2 separate regions of the Homo sapiens genome follow, and region 1 is linked to region 2. The links are contacts of gene promoters, found by promoter capture Hi-C in blood cells and fetal thymus (Javierre and others, 2016). All regions are on one chromosome and are shown on one strand. Each heading gives the region's core, a stretch centred on a gene start or on the middle of the fragment in contact. The rest is flanking DNA. Distances are from core to core; before and after follow the strand shown. Region 1 has its middle 31 kb from the start of OSTC. Region 2 holds the start of COL25A1 (collagen type XXV alpha 1 chain).

What was found. The method cuts DNA at HindIII sites, captures the fragments that hold promoters and counts their contacts. A CHiCAGO score of 5 or more calls a contact.
Region 1: a contact is called between a fragment that was not itself captured here and the fragment with the promoter of COL25A1 in region 2, in 1 of 17 cell types (M2 macrophages). The highest score is 6.9, in M2 macrophages.

Annotation. Positions count from the first base shown.
Region 1 is chr4:108,679,352-108,683,151 of GRCh38, forward strand. No RefSeq gene overlaps it. Among named protein-coding and RNA genes, the nearest start is that of OSTC, 31 kb to the left of the region's middle. The HindIII fragment of the contact is 3,149 bases long and covers 1-3,116 here.
Region 2 is chr4:109,300,745-109,304,547 of GRCh38, forward strand. COL25A1 (collagen type XXV alpha 1 chain) reads right to left here and starts at 1,914. Exons shown (of 38, transcript NM_198721.4): 1 at 1,425-1,914; 2 at 979-1,331. The coding sequence starts at 1,275. It overlaps COL25A1-DT (COL25A1 divergent transcript), which reads left to right and starts at 2,291. Exons shown (of 3, transcript NR_160939.1): 1 at 2,291-2,583. RefSeq lists an enhancer at 1,986-2,768. The HindIII fragment of the contact is 6,447 bases long and covers 1-2,172 here.

The DNA.
Region 1 (3,800 bases), core at 292-2,791, 620 kb before region 2:
TTTTTTGAGACAGTCTTGCTCTGTCTCTCAGGCTGGAGTGCAATGGCACAATCTTGGCTCACTGCAGCCTTGACCTCCGAGCCCAAGCAATCCTTCTGCCTCAGCCTCCCGAGTAGCTGGGACTAAAGTCATGTGCCACCACACCTGGCTAGTTTTTAAATTTTGTTTGTTTGTTTTGTTTTGTAGAGATGAGGTCTCACTATATTGCTCAGGCTGGTCTTGAACTCCTGGGCTCAAGCAATCCTCTCATCTCAGCCTCCCAAAGTGTGGGATTATAGGTGTGAGCCACAGCACATGGCCTCCTTTTACATACATTTTACTTTATAATATTTAATATACTCAAACATATATGAAGCAGTCATACATTATAAAGCATAATAAAATGCATAAAGTCCTGTGAACCTATAACCCAATATAAGAATTAAAATATTGCCAATACTCTTAATACTATCTTTGTATTCTATCCTTATCCACTTCCCTCCCTTCCTTCTAGAAGCATCTACTGCCCTGAATTGGTGTTTATCACATCTTTGCTTTTTTATCTTTGTATTTCAATGCATATAAAAGCACTTCTTTGCTTTTTAAAGAATAGTGTTAACACATATATATGAATACCTAAATATCATTTTGTTTTGCTTGACACATCAATTGAGTTATTGCTTGACACATCAATAATTTAAAGTTGTGGGCCAGGCACGGTGCCTCACGCCTGTAATCTCAGTACTGTGGAAGGCCGAGGCGGGTGGATCACCTGTGGTCAGGAGTTCGAGACCAGCCTGGCCAACACGGTGAAACCCCATCTCTACTAAAAACACAAAAATTAGCCGAGCATGGTGGTGTGTGCCTGTAGTCCCAGCTACTCGGGAGGCTGAGGCAGGGGAATCGCTTGAACTCGGGAGGCGGAGCTTGTAGTGAGCCGAGATCGTACCACTGCACTCTCAGCCTGGGTGACAGAGCGAGACTCCGTCTCAAAAAAGAAAAATAATAATAATAATAATAATAAAGTTGTGTGTTGTATCTTCTACCATGATTGTAATTTTTAAATATATTGTCAGTTTTACAAAATCTGATTGTCATATCTTTCTGGTGAATTCAAGTTTTCATCATTGTGTAGTGACTCTCCTCATAGCATAGTAATTTTTTGTCTCAAAGTTGATGGACTCTCATGTTCATATAGCTGACTCAACCCTTTGCAGATGTTGTTTTGCCATGTATTGTTTTCTATAACTTTCTTTGAAACTTTTTTCGTTCTTATATTTTAGGGGTATCACTTATGAATATCATATAGATTTATTTTTGTTTTATTCTGTCAATCTTGTCTTTTAATGAGTGAGTTCAGTCTACTTTCAGGAATTATGATTACAGATGCTCCTCAATTTACGATGGAGTCATGTCCGAATAAACCCATTACTAGTTGGAAATATAGAAAGTTAAAAATGCATTTAATATACTTAATCTATTGAACATCATAGTTTAACCTAGTCTAACTTAAATATGATCGGAACACTTACATAGCCCCTAGTTAGGAAAAGTCATCTAACACAAAGTTTATCTTATAATAAAGTGTTGAATATCTCACGTAATTTATTGAAAATGCTACTGAAAATGAAAAACAGAATGGTTGTATGGGTACTAGAAGTATGATTTCTACTGAATGTCTATCACTTTCACACTTTCACACTGTCATAAAGTTGTCATAAATTTAACTAATGTAAGTCGGGGACTGTCTGTATTATATATTTGGACTTTTCTATATCTCCTCTTCACTTTATTCTATTTGTCTAACTTTTCAAGGTTTATTTCCCCTTCTAATTATTTTTGAGTTGATAGGAATTTTTAAAAACATCTATAAATGGCAGATTGTCATTTCCAAAAGTGACTGCAGCAGTAACTCCTAACTCATATGTTTTATACAAAGTGACCTTGCTGCTCCTTATTAAGAGAAGATGATTTCTCTTGTTCGTGGAATGTGGCCAGCCTTGTCATCGCTTTTCCTGGTTAAAGATGGCAAAAGTGACTGCCAGTGCTGGGCATAGTTTTTAAACAGCTTGGCAGCTTCTGCTTCCTGCGTCTGAGAATGCTGGTTCTTGGGATGCACCCTCTTGGAACCCAGCTGCAGGATCATGAGCACCCCAAAACACATGGAAAAACCACATGTCGCCAATCCTGTCAACATCAGCTGAGCTCGGAGCTGGCTGCTACAATCAACTGCCAGTCCTGCAAAGGAGCCTTCATGGACATTAGCCCAGCTGCCATCTGACTACAACTGTGTGAGATACCCCAAGGGAGAACTACTCAGCTGAGTCCAGTCAGCCTGCAGGACCTTGGGAAATAGGAATAAACTGTTTTCAGCCACTAAATGTTCGGCTTGCTTTTAATGAGCAATCAAGAACTGGGATGAATGTGTGGCTTTAGGACCAAACAGTGGATTGAAACTTCCAGGGTCTTGAAGAGATGAAAAATAAAAGCCAGAAAGGCCTGGAGAAGACAATGAAAGTGGAGCTGTTGGCCGGGCACGGTGGCTCACGCCTGTAATCCCAGCTCTTTGGGAGGCCGAGGCAGGCGGATAGAGGTCAGGAGATCGAGACCATCCTGGCTAACACGGTGAAACCCCGTCTCTACTAAAAATACAAAAAATTAGCTGGGCACGGTGGCGGACGCCTGTAGTCCCGGCTACTTGGGAGGCTGAGGCAGGAGAATGGCGTGAACCTGGGAGGCGGAGCTTGCAGTGAGCCGAGATCGCGCCACTGCACTCCAGCCTGGGCGACAGAGCGAGACTCCGTCTCAAAAAAAAAAAAAAAGAAAGTGGAGCTGTTGATGCTTCAAGACAGTGAGGTCAATGACCTTAGAGGCTGAAGAGAAGGGACCTTTGTTAGGTAAAGGCGAAATTTGCTAATGCTCTAACCATGTGAGGCAGGGGTGGTGGGAGGGCATAGAAAGGGCACCTAATGAACTCATTGATCCAGCTAGGGAGGAAGTAGAAAGTGCCAAGTCAACTGTCTTGTACTGTATATTGTGAAATATAAGAAGAGACAGATGAACTAAGGTTTGTTCTGTTTCTAAGCTGAATTTAGAGGAAACAGAGCCCAGAACAATCTTTCCAGGCAGCAAATGAAAGCTTGTGTTTTTAAAACAGCTTATCCAAGAAATGCTACTTATTTATTATTATTATTTTTTTTTTTTTTTTTTTTTTTGAGATGGAGTCTCGCTCTGTTACCCAGGCTGGAGTGCAGTGGTGTGATCTCGGCTTACTGCAACCTCCGCCTCCCGGGTTCAAGTGATTCTCCTACCTCAGCCTCCCAAGTAGCTGAGATTACAGGCACACACCACAAGGCCCGGCTAATTTTTGTATTTTTAGTAGAAATAGGGTTTTGCCATGTTGGCCCAGGCTGGTCTCGAACTCCTGACCTCAGGTGATCTGCCCACCTCGGCCTCCCAAACTGCTGGGATTACCAGCGTGAGCCACCGTGCACAGCCTTATTCTTTTTTTTTTTTTTTTTTTTTTTAAAGATTTTGTTGTTAAATTGATGATTAAAATTGTATCTTTGGTACATCACTATCTCTGTCTAAGCACAATAACTTCTAGTTGTATTGCGCTTTTTCAGTTTACAAAGAACTTTTACATACATTATCTCAATTCTCCTGACAATCCCGGTGTGAGGCATGTAGGAAAGTTATTTTTAGTCCACAGTATTAATAGTAGCAACACCCACAGCCACCCTTTCTTTTTCTCCAATTTTGGGATTCCTACTATGTGCCCACCATTATACATTAAATAGGTGATCTTGTATCCTCATGGT
Region 2 (3,803 bases), core at 664-3,163:
ATTTCATAACCTGCATAACTAACATTTACATATGTACTTGGACTCTAGTCAAGAAAGTAACCATGCCTAAGTCCTAAAAAAAGAAAATGACCACTGATAGGGTATCAAGATTGCTGGACTTGTATAACATCTTTCTCCATTCTTCTCTACCACCACTCTCTCCCTCAGCTCAAGCATATGCAGTCAATGTAAAAACCTAGCACTAAAATGTTGCAGTATTAGGTAAGCTGTGGCTTACCAATAACAGCCAATATTTTATACATGAAGGTCAACTGCTTTATTTATCATGCTAGGCTGCAACTACTGCCAAATAGGCTCCCGGCTAGGGTAAGGTTCCAGAAAACCCCCTTACTCTAGTCTAAAGGTACCCTTACACATAACATAGATTCCTCTCAACTCTCAATTCCAAGGGCTCTGCATTCATAAATACCCCGGCACTGCATCCTTTACCAAAAATAAAGCTACTTTAAAAAAAAAAAGTTTAAACTTTTAATATGAAAAGATTCAACGTGTGAAATTATTGATTTTAAATTATATATGACATTATTTTACATTTAAGAGTGATTACCTTTTTTATATATTAATAACATCTATGACCCTAACCATCTTACAACATGTAAAAGATTTAACAGATGCTATCTCTGCAAGAAATATTCTCTCCACAATTGGGTTTGACTTAGGACAACTAAAAAGAGATAAAATGCCCTTTCCGAACCCTTTTAGACCTTCCTATGTGTTTAACACGCAAACATTAAGAGAGAGTGAGGGAAGATTAGAGATAGGGATGGGGACATCAAGGGATGTGCACATATAAATATATGCTACAGTGAGCATAGATCCTTGGCCAACACATGCACGCGCGCGCACACACACAGCCACACCAAGTATGGGTACAGTAAGGGTAGCGGCTAGTCATGCACACAGAGTCACGCTTGTACAAGATGTTACCCACGTGCAAAATACCCCAGCCTCTCACACCTGAGCCAGAAGTCGCTCCACTTTCTCTTGCACCATAGTCTTGAGGTGATCCAGGGTATCAGGCAGCAGATGAATGGAAGGGGCCCCTTTGGCGGATTCGAGAGCGGCGATCCTCGCCTGGAGGTCGTTGGTTTTCACACCCAGGTACAGGCAAGACACCACGGCCACCACTGACAGGAGGGCCGCCAGGACGGCACACGGGGGCATGGTCCGGGCACAATGCTGTTCGGCAGGGGTCGGGTCCTCGGATCTGGGCTCCCGGCCCCCTCCTTTCCCTGCGTGCTTCTTCAGCAGCATCGTGGCGGGGTCGGCCGTCTCGGCTTCGCTTCCCACCCTCTACACCTCAAATAATCCTAAAAGGAAAGAAAAAGGTCGATTCCTCCAAAGTTCAGTCCCTGTGGCTGCACAACTAGTTGGTGGAGTCAAGCCCACGAGCGGATACGGACCCCTGCCTTGCTCAGCGTCCAGACCCGCAGGCGTGCACCATCCCCGCTTTCTTCTCTCCTCCCAGCTGGAAGTGAAAAGCACCCTCCGTCCGGGGACTGGGTGGCGGTGGGGTAAAAAGCAAGACGAAACCCACCCAGACAGCTCTTCCGACTCCCAGAGGACCGACACCTCTTTCGAGGGCCCCAACAGTGGCCGCTCAGGGTCCGAGGGCAACGGCCGAGGCGCCACGCGGGGCCGCGGCTCGCCCTGGCCACGGAGGACCGGACCTGTTGCGCCTCTGTGAGTTTGCCTTATTTCTACCTACTCGGTGTCTTTCGGCACGCCGACCTGTTTCCCACCTGCATTCAGTTCAAGGCAAAAAGGCTGTGAGAGCACGCTACAGCGCAGCGCGAAAGGGGCGACTAAGGTGGAGAAGAGAGAGGAAAACGAAATAAACCCAAGGAACCAATGCTACTCGCGAAGCCGAAGTCGCGGCTGCCCGAAGGATCTCCGCAGCCCCGCGTGCGCGATCCTTAAATACCCTTCGCGATGCTCGCGTGAGTGTGTGTGTGAGTGTGTGAGTGCGCGCGCGCTCCGAGCACGACGTCCCTCCCCCGACCCCCTCCCGGCGCCCGGCGTCCGGCCTGCCGCTCCCGCTGCTGCGCGCCCCCCTTCCGAAGGCAAAGCAGGAGCCCGCCTTATTATCATAATGTATTCACCTTGGCCCAGCCCGCGGGCCGGCCCGGGGAACCCCCAAGGGAGGCGGGAAGCTTGGGTGGGAGCGGGGCAGGAGGTCTGTTATTAGCATAATGTATGCAAATAGCTGGAGCGGCCACCGTGATTGGAGAGGAGCCTGGCGACCCCTCCCCCTGCGCGGAGTAACTTCAGCATCTCCGAGGGCCACCTCTCTGGCCTGGGCCGGGGCCGAAGCGGGGTCGGCTGCGCAAGAGGCGGCAACTTTGGCTTATACTGACTCAGCCCAGCGCCCCCTTTTTATCCCACATAAAAATGGAGAAATGGCCTCCGGGAGGAAGATGTGAAGCGGCACGCTCTATCTCTACTGATCTTCACTCAAAAGCAGCCGCAGGAGCTGTTGCTATCTCGCTGTGGTGCAGCGCTTTTCCCTCCTCCCTCACTTTCCCACATGCCCAGAGGCAAAGTGTCTGGCCGACGTCTGAGGTACATTTCCCCACTTCCCTTCTCTTCCCACTGCAGCCCTCAGATTGTCCAACGAGGGGAAGTTTTCCTTCCCCTCCCCCAGTTTCCTTGTCTTGACGGCACTGAGTCTCCTCCCAGCTCTGTATTCCTAGTCTGTACTAGGGTGCTAATGTGTTTTCCTGATTCCCTGTTTTGCGGGATTGGAAAAGGGAGTGTTGAGGTATACACATTTCTCAGGATTTAGGAAAGGAATGAAGAATGAAGTCAGTTTTTCCTTTTACCTGACTCTTAATGCTGTTCTCTCTGGATCAAATTACAAGGTCTCTAATGGGATTTTGGAAAGTTGGTAACAAGTAGCATTTGACATCTAATTGACTTTGGGGAAAACAGAAATCCCACCTCTTATTCCAAAGAGTTCCTTCTTATCTCCCTATAAAAAAAAAAACCATATATTTTTCCTATTCTCCTTAATTAAGCTAACCTGAAGTCGTTGCTTACTATTGTAAACAGTCAACAAAATACTTCACTAAGTTGGTCTTTCACATGTGTAAACGGATATTGCTAGGTGTGAAGCAAGGTAAGGAAATAACAGCATTAGAGGAAGAAAGAGACTAACATTGGAGGAAAACTCAATGAATTTGGCTATAAAGTCAAAACCATAATTCATTTGTATTACACAGTGGTTCTCAAAGGATGGTCCTAGACCAATAACATCAGCATCACCTGAGAACTTGGACATTAAAATTCTAGGTTCCTACCACAGATCTGAATCAGAAACTGCTACTACCACTACTGAAATAATAATTTTAAAAAAAACAGCAATCTGTGTTTTAACAAGCCCTCCAAATGATTTTGATATATACTACTAAAGTTTGAGAACCACTGGTATAATACTTTCCAAAATATTTTCAAATACTTTTTGTATTTGAACCTCATAACCCTGCGATGTGAGGATTTACTGTTCCTCTTTTAAATATAAACAACGTTTTTAAATAAATTTTAAAACAGATAAATTTCAAGTCACATTTAATTGTGATTAAACATGTTTCCAATAACAGGACCCAAATAATGGGTACAAATATTTTAATGTACAAACTCTTTCTGTAACCTCTAGCTGTTCCTTAGTCTCATTTGCAGGCTTTTCCTCTTTCATTTCTCTGAAAGTTGGTGCTCCTTGGGTCTCTGTCTATTCCATCTTCTCTGTATACTCTCTCCAGTAGAGTTCCCATTACACTGATGAG